3 separate regions of the Homo sapiens genome follow, and all the other regions are linked to region 1. The links are contacts of gene promoters, found by promoter capture Hi-C in human tissues and cell types (Jung and others, 2019). All regions are on one chromosome and are shown on one strand. Each heading gives the region's core, a stretch centred on a gene start or on the middle of the fragment in contact. The rest is flanking DNA. Distances are from core to core; before and after follow the strand shown.

Region 1 (2,835 bases), core at 336-2,835:
CCCAGAATCTGTTAAGGGTGATTGGAGGAGGAAACTTAGCAGATAAGCAAGAAAGAGAACAGGTTTTATTTTCCCCTAGTCTAAGTACAAGTAATGTTCTGATTACTTCTGTCCTCTCTTCCCCATATTAGAACAACTGGAATTTTAAAAGTTCATTCTCTTGCTAAAACTGTCATGAGACAGCTGGAGATGGTACATTTACAAAAAATCCAGTTCTAGATGGCTAACTTTCAAAGTAAGACGACAGTGAACAATGTCTATCTTAATATCCTTTGTACTTTTGCTGGGCGCAGTGGCTCACGCCTGTAATGACGGATCACGAGGTCAGGAGATCGAGACCATCCTGCCTAAAACGGTGAAACCCCGTCTCTACTAAAAATAAAAATAAAAAATGGCCGGCCGTGGTGGCACGTGCCTGTAGTCCCAGCTACTCAGGAGCCTGAGGCAGGACAATCGCTTGAACCCGGGAGGTGGAGGTTGCAGTGAGCCAAGATCGCGCCACTGCACTCCAGCCAGGGCGACAGAGCGAGATTCCGTCTCAAAAACAACAACAAAATATCCTTTGTAGTTTTACACACACACGTATATGTATATACAGTACATATATTTAAAAAAACATATACACACACACACACAGTTCTTTTTTTTTTTTTTTTCCTGAGTCTCGTTCTGTGGCCCACGCTGGAGTGCAGTGGTGCGATCACATCTCACTGCAGCCTGAAACTCCCTGACTCAAGCAATCCTCCCACCTCAGCCTCCAGAGTAGCTGGGACTTCAGAAGCACGCAACCACGCCCCACTAATTTTTGTATTTTTTGTAGAGACAGGGTTTCACAATGCTGCCCAAGCTGGTCTCGAACTCCTGGGCTCAAGCTATCCTACCGCGTCGGTTTCCGAAAGTGTTGCGATTACAGGCGTGAGCCATAGCGTTACATGTGGTGGGGGGGAAGAGAGAGAAAGAGAGAGAGTGAGAAGAAGGAGGAGGAGGAGGAGGAGGAGAAAGAAGGAAGAAAGAAAAGAAAAGAAATATAGAGAGGGTGTTCAAATCTACTGTTCAAGTGCTTTCCATGTACATATAATCTCTTTTTAAAATCCCATCCAGCTCTGTTGAGATGAGAAAACTGAAGCTCTGAGAGGTTGAGTAACTTTATCACGCTCCCGCAAAGATAAAAGAACCGCCATCTGCCCATATTAATTTCCCTGAGATGAAATGTGACAGAGAAAGATACCTCAAAATTAAGGAAATGGAGAGCTTCGAGAATCATCTTCCATCTCCGCCGAGTCCCCCAGGAACTTGGCCCGGAGTCTTTGGGCTGTCCCACCTGATCTTGCCCCAGTGCGGCTCCACACCCTGGCGGGCGGCGTACGGAGCGTCCCGGCCCCCGGCACCAGCCAGCGTCGGAGTGGGTAGGACTGGAGATGGCAGCCTCCGGTCCAGGGGAAGCGGGACTCCACGGAAGGGCTGGGAAGAGGGTAGGAAGAGGGGGCGGGGGCGGGAACTGTTCCGCCCCCTCCCCCTCTGTCTACTTTCATTGGCCAAGGGCTTCCTGGCCCCAACCCACCTCCCGCCTCCAGGGCGCCGCTTAAAGTGTGCGGAGCAGGTGCCTTGGGTGGAGCCACAACTTTGCGCGAGTGTCTTGGTTGAGCGCAGCGCCCATTCATTGCCCGCGAGCGTCCATCCATCTGTCCGGCCGACTGTCCAGCGAAAGGGGCTCCAGGCCGGGCGCAGCCGCCACCCGGGGGACCGAGGCCAGGAGAGGGGCCAAGAGCGCGGCTGACCCTTGCGGGCCGGGGCAGGGGACGGTGGCCGCGGCCATGCAGTCCTGTGCCAGGGCGTGGGGGCTGCGCCTGGGCCGCGGGGTCGGGGGCGGCCGCCGCCTGGCTGGGGGATCGGGGCCGTGCTGGGCGCCGCGGAGCCGGGACAGCAGCAGTGGCGGCGGGGACAGCGCCGCGGCTGGGGCCTCGCGCCTCCTGGAGCGCCTTCTGCCCAGACACGACGACTTCGCTCGGAGGCACATCGGCCCTGGGGACAAAGACCAGAGAGAGATGCTGCAGACCTTGGGGCTGGCGGTAAGGACCTCCACCCGGCCCTCCGCGGCCTCCCCTCCGCCCTGCCCGGGCTCTGCCTGCGCGGCCTCCCGGCTCCTACCCTGAGCTCTGCTGCGCTCCGCGTGGTCCCCGCACCCTGGGTCCCGGGCCGTGGCGTGGAAGCAAATTCGTGCCTTTGGTCCTCGTGCCTTCTTACTTCTTAACAGCTTACTTTCTCCTGCACCCAGTCTTCGTGCCTCAAAAGTGTACATTTTTAAACCACCCCCAGCCCAAGTGGCCCTGTGGATGGACCTAAACTTTGCAAGAGGAGGAAGACCCCCTGATTAAGAGTGGGCTTACCGGTTAGCTCCGGTTGCAACTGAAATCCAACCCCGAGTGGCGGAATCTCCACCCCACTTCACGATTTTCTTTCCTCCAAATCATTCTGGCTTGCTCAGAGTTTTCCTTTTCTTTTAAAAAGAACCCTAATTAGGCGATTTCAATGAGGTTCCCACAAGGCTTTGTAGTCGCAAAACACAGAGGTGACTCTTTTAACTCAGAGGCACTTTCCTCTGCCTTGCGTTTTAATTTTAGAGCATTGATGAATTGATCGAGAAGACGGTCCCTGCCAACATCCGTTTGAAAAGACCCTTGAAAATGGAAGACCCTGTTTGTAAGTGGCCGGGAGGGCTCCCTTGGACTTAGATTATTCTGGCCTATTTGTCTTTTGTGGTTCCCTGAAAATCGAGCTCTGGGGTAAGGATTGCTCAGGACTGGGAATGTGTGGATTAAAATAAAACAGTGGCGG
Region 2 (2,760 bases), core at 148-2,647, 74 kb after region 1:
TCAGCCTCCCAAAGTGCTGGGATTACAGCGATTCTTGTGTCTCAGCCTCCCTAGTAGCTGGGATTACAGGCGTGAGCCACCATGCCTGGCCCACATAAATGTATTCTATCATAAAAATTTTAAGTTCACCTGTGAAATAGATAGCATTATGTCCACGTGACAGATGGGATCCAGAGGAATAATTTGCTTGGAGCCAGACAGCTTTGAAAAGGGCAGCAAATAAAAAACAACTTTGATATTAGAGGTGAGAGAAACTCCCGGGTGGCTGCAGGAAATACCTGTTTGTGAGATCTGCCTGGGAATGAGTGACTTTAACATGATCTTGTTGTAGGAAACATTTAACAGTATGTGCCACCTAAGGGCTCCTGTTTGCAAACAACAGAAAATGGCTTGCATTAACTTCAGCAGAAAAATAATTTACAGGGAAGTTATTGGGCAGTTCACAGAGTTGATGGAAAAGCTGGAGAATTAGACTTCAGCAGTGAGTAAGACCCAAGAAAGGCTGGCAGCAGAGAAGAAAATGGAGTCTCACCATGCGAAGAGTCACCATCTTCACTGTGGGAAATATGGAACTGTCCCATTCCTTTGGTCTGTCCATCCAGATTCATAATGTCCTGGCTGGAGTATTGCACAGGATGTTTCACACCTCCATGTCTTATTAGTGTTTAGTGACTGGGAATGTCTAATCCTTTTTGCTTTCATAGGGGAGTGTAGGACCGTGTCTCTCCCATAGACTCACACAAAAGAGGGAATTCCCCCAGATAATAAAGCCACTGAAAGGCTCTGCATTCCCACACACACCTCTAAACTCAGCACCAATGAAAACCCAGTTGATTTTCAACATCCTAATGTAACCCTCCTTCGTACTTTTAAGCACATTGACAGCATGTCCACATGTCATTTTCCCAGCATCATTTTCTGAATTGCATTTGTACTTACTGCTCGTTGGCTATGGTAGTTTGCAGATACTTTCTCCCGTTCTGTAGCTTGTCCTTGTAACCCTAATGGGAGCAAAAAGTTTTTAATTATGATGGAGTTCAATTTATCAATTTTTTTCTTTTATGAATTGTGCTTTGGGTTTCAAATCTACCCTAGATCCCAACAATTTTTATTCTGTTTTTTGTTTTTCCCAGAAATTTCATAGTTTTATGTTTTACATTTAAGTCCATGATCCATTTACAGGTGATTTTTATATAAGCTGTGAGACTTAGATTGTGCCTATGGATGTCTAAGTGTTTCAGTTCCATTTATTGAAAAGGCGATCTTTCCTCCATTGAATTACTTTTGCAACTTTGTCAAAAATAGTTGGGTATATTTGTTTGGATCTATTTCTGGATTCTATATTCTATTCCATTGATCTATGTGTGATCTCTGTGTACATAGGCTTGATTATTGTAGCTATATATGATAGTCCCCACTTATTTGCAGTTTCAGTTACCCATGGTCAACTGGCTCAAAAATATTAAATGGAAAATTTGAGAAATAAGCAATTCATCCTAAGTTTTAAATTGTACACCATTCTAAATAGTGTGATGAAACCCTGCAGCATCTTGTTCCATCCCACCTGGGATGTAAATCAGCCCTTTGTCCAGCATATCCACTGTGTATATGCTACCCACCCATCAGTCACTTAGTAGCTGCCTTGGTTACCAGATCAACTGCTATGTTATCACAGCGCTTTCAAGGAACAGTGAAATCGTACAGTGGCACGATCTCACTGCAATGTCTCATTGCAAGGAACCCTTATTTTATTTAGTAGTGTACCCAAAGCACAAGAGTAGTGATACTGGTATGGTGGTGTAATTGTTCTATTTATTCTTAGTTATTGTTGTTAATCTGTAACTGTGCCTAATTTATAAGTTAGATTTTATCATAGGTATGTATGTATAGGAAAAATCGTAGTACACCTGGGTTTGGGTGCCATCCATGGTTTCAGGCACCCACTGGGTGTCCCGGAAGATATTTCCTGCAGATAAGAGGGGGCTACTGTTAATAAGCCTTGCCATCAGATGAACTGATTTGTGCCAGTTTCTTTCTTTTTTTTTTAAAAAAAGTAGCTATTCCAGTTACTTTGCCTTTACATATGCATTTTAGAATAATCTTGCTTGTGTCTATAAGAAAATCATTATTTTGGGGGAGGATGATGTATATTTTAGCTTCTAAATGTTACATTTTGTACAAAGGGCTGTATGCTGGATGCTATAGATATTATAGGTAGTTGAAGGGAACAAATTCACCTCATATTTAAACTTATAATTTATCACTCATAAAATAAATATTTTTCATGAAAAGGTATCATTTTAAATGTAATAAAATATTTTTTTTAAAAACATACCCCGAGAAACTTTTTTTTTTTTTTTTTTTGAGACAGAGTTTTGCTCTTGTTGCGCAGGCTGGAGTGCAGTGGTGCGATCTCAGCTCACTGGAACCTCCACCTGCTGGGTTCAAGTGATTCTCTTGTCTCACCCTCCTGAGTAGCTAGGATTACAGGCACCTGCCACAACGCCCAGCTAATTTTTGTATTTTTAGTAGAGACGAAGTTTCGCCATGTTGGCCAGGTTGGTCTCGAACTCCTGACCTCAGGTGATCTGCCCGTCTCAGCCTCCCAAAGTGCTGGGATTACAGGCATGAGCCACCATGCCTGGTCAAGAAACTTCTTAAGAAGTTCAAATATAAGAAGTAAAATAGGTCCACTGCTTATAAATAACTTCAATGGGAACTTCACTGAAATCACACACTAAAGGTGGCCATCCGTGCACA
Region 3 (2,847 bases), core at 296-2,795, 130 kb after region 1:
TATGTAGAAAGCTGAAACTGGATCCCTTCCTTACACCTTATACAAAAATTAATTCAAGATGGATTAAAGACTTAAATGTTGGACCTAAAACCATAAAAACCCTAGAAGAAAACCCAGGCAATACCATTCAGGACATAGGCATGGGCAAGGACTTCATGACTAAAACACCAAACGCAATGACAACAAAAGCCAAAATTGACAAATGGGATCTCATTAAACTAAAGAGCTTCTTCACAGCAAAAGAGACCATCAGAGTGAACAGGCAACTTACAGAATGGGAGAAAATTTTTGCAATCTACTCATCTGACAAACGGCTAATATCCAGAATCTACAAAGAACTCAAACAAACTTACAAGAAAAAAACAAACAACCCCATCAAAAAGTGGGCAAAGGATGTGAACAGACACTTCTCAAAAGAAGACATTTATGCAGCCAATAGACACATGAAAAAATGTTCATCATCACTGGCCATCAGGGAAATGCAAATCAAAACCACAATGAGATACCATCTCATACTGGGTAGAATGGTGAACATTAAAAAGTCAGGAAACAACAGGTGCTGCAGAGGCTGTGGAGAAATAGGAATGCTTTTACACTGTTGATGGGACTGTAAACTAGTGCAACCATTGTGGAAGACAGTGTGGTGATTCCTCAAGGATCTAGAACTAGAAATACCATTTGACCCAGCCATCCCGTTACTGGGTATATACCCAAAGGATTATAAATCATGCTGCTATAAAGACACATGCACATGTATGTTTATTGCGGCACTATTCACAATAGCAAAGACTTGGAACTCACCCAAATGTCCAACAATGATAGACTGGATTAAGAAAATGTGGCACATATGCACCATGGAATACTATGCAGCCATAAAAAAGGATGAGTTAATGTCCTTTGTAGGGACATGGATGAAGCTGGAAACCATCATTCTCAGCAAACTATCACAAGGACAAAAAACCAAACACCGCATGTTCTCAATCATAGGTGGGAATTGAACAATGAGAACACTTGGACACAGGAAGGGGAACGTCACACACCGGGGCCTGTCATGGGGTCGGGGGGAGGGGAGAGGGATAGCATTAGGAGATATATCTAATGTAAATGATGAGTTAATGGGTGCAGCACACCAACATGGCACATGTATACATATGTAACAAACCTGCATGTTGTGCACATGTACCCTAGAACTTAAAGTATAATAAAAAATAAAAATAAATTTAAAAAAAGATAATTTGGAGGGAAGTAAAACTAGTGTGAGCTACTTGTCTTAAACATAAAGAGACAAAGCTTACCCATTAAAAGACAAGACTATGCTAAAGGATAAAGGTGAATGAAAAAAGAAGTTTAGAATACAAGCAATATATCATTTGTATGTTTTCATTATAACACTTGAAATACCTACATTTTGTTTATTGAGACCTGTACATAGGTGCATTAAGTATAAAAAAACACTGAAAAGGTATCAAGAATTTTGCAGTAATGTCTTGGGTACGGAGGGGAATGGGAAGTGTGACTGAAAGTATGTCAGCTTCATTTGTATTATTTTATTCTTTCTTTTTTTTTTTTTTTTTTTTTTGAGATGGAGTTTTGCTCTTGTCGCCCAAGCTGGAGTGCAGTGACATGCCCTTGGCTCACTGCAACCTCCTCCTCCTGAGTTCAAGTGATTCTCCTGCCTTGGTCTCTTGGATGCCTGCCACGATGCCCGGCTAATTTTTGTACTGTTAGTAGAGACAGGGTTTCACCATGTTAGTCAGGCTGGTCTCGAACTCCTGAACTCAGGTGATCCACCCACTTCGGCCTCCCAAAGTGCTGGGATTACAGGTGTGAGCCACCGCGCCTGGTCTTATTCTTTTATTTAAGAAATAAGTACTTAACAACGACCAATACTGAATAATCTGCATGCTACAGTATTTGTCGTTTCCATATTTTAAAAACAAAAACCTCAATAAGCATAGAGCATAGCATAGATGTTACTTTCCTTCTGCTGGAAGTGTTTAGCTATAATAACAAAAGAAATAGCTTCTTTGTCACGTTGTTGGGAAGTCTGTCATATACTAAAGACACATAGGTGTTTAATAAATATTATTTTTCTTAGGCCAGGTGCAGTGGCTCACACCTGTAATCCCAGCACTTTGGGAGGCCAAGGCGGGTGGATCACGAGGTCAGGAGATGAAGACCATTCTGACCAACACGGTGAAACCCTGGCTCTACTAAAAAATACAAAAAAACAGCTGGATATGGTGGTGTGCACCTGTAGTCCCAGCTACTTGGGAGGCTGAGGCAGGATAATCACTTGAACCCCGGAGGCGAAGGTTGCAATGAGCCAAGATCGCACCACTGCACTCCAACCTCGGCGACAGAGTGAGGCTCCGTCTCAAAAATAAATAAATAAATAAATGAATAAAATGAAATATCAGTTTTCTCTGAAATAGAGTTCATTTGTGGTACAGTGTTATGGTTTCTTAGATTAAAAATCTGTCTTTGAAAGGCTGCTTTGGGCACTTCAAATTCCACACAAGATGGAGCCAAGTATATTCCAGTCTATTCCTCTTGCTAATTATAAATAAAATCTAGGCACTCTCGGATATGTGGAATATCCTGGGAGTAAGCTTCCTGGGGTCTTTCCTATACTTACTTTTTGCCTTCTTTTGCTTTCTTTTGGCTTGGGTGCAATGGTCTACAACCAGAAAACATCAATGGATACAGACAAAGAAAAAAAGCCAAATGAATGGGAAAAGGGGTAACGCCGCAGGAGAAAAAAACCTGCCTACTCCACATGAACACCATGGGAGAAAACCACACCCATTCTTCCTGGTCACTGGGTCTGGCCAAGACTGTGGAGTG

The links. The method cuts DNA at HindIII sites, captures the fragments that hold promoters and counts their contacts. A contact is called where the count stands out against the background at its distance.
Region 2: a fragment that was not itself captured here is called in contact with the fragment with the promoter of GLDC in region 1 in 3 of the 25 tissues and cell types used here (H1 embryonic stem cells, hippocampus and lymphoblastoid cells).
Region 3: a fragment that was not itself captured here is called in contact with the fragment with the promoter of GLDC in region 1 in 2 of the 25 tissues and cell types used here (aorta and mesendoderm cells).

The regions. Positions count from the first base shown.
Region 1 is chr9:6,644,479-6,647,313 of GRCh38, reverse strand. It overlaps GLDC (glycine decarboxylase), which reads left to right and starts at 1,585. Exons shown (of 25, transcript NM_000170.3): 1 at 1,585-2,069; 2 at 2,622-2,700. The coding sequence starts at 1,815. RefSeq lists enhancers at 578-677, 728-837, 1,818-2,375 and silencers at 1,508-1,757, 1,828-2,027, 2,068-2,137. The HindIII fragment of the contact is 11,104 bases long and covers 1-2,835 here.
Region 2 is chr9:6,570,459-6,573,218 of GRCh38, reverse strand. The region is part of intron 15 of GLDC (glycine decarboxylase); the gene reads left to right. Among named protein-coding and RNA genes, the nearest start is that of GLDC, 74 kb to the left of the region's middle. The HindIII fragment of the contact is 9,762 bases long and covers 1-2,760 here.
Region 3 is chr9:6,517,420-6,520,266 of GRCh38, reverse strand. No RefSeq gene overlaps it. Among named protein-coding and RNA genes, the nearest start is that of UHRF2, 110 kb to the right of the region's middle. The HindIII fragment of the contact is 4,034 bases long and covers 1-2,847 here.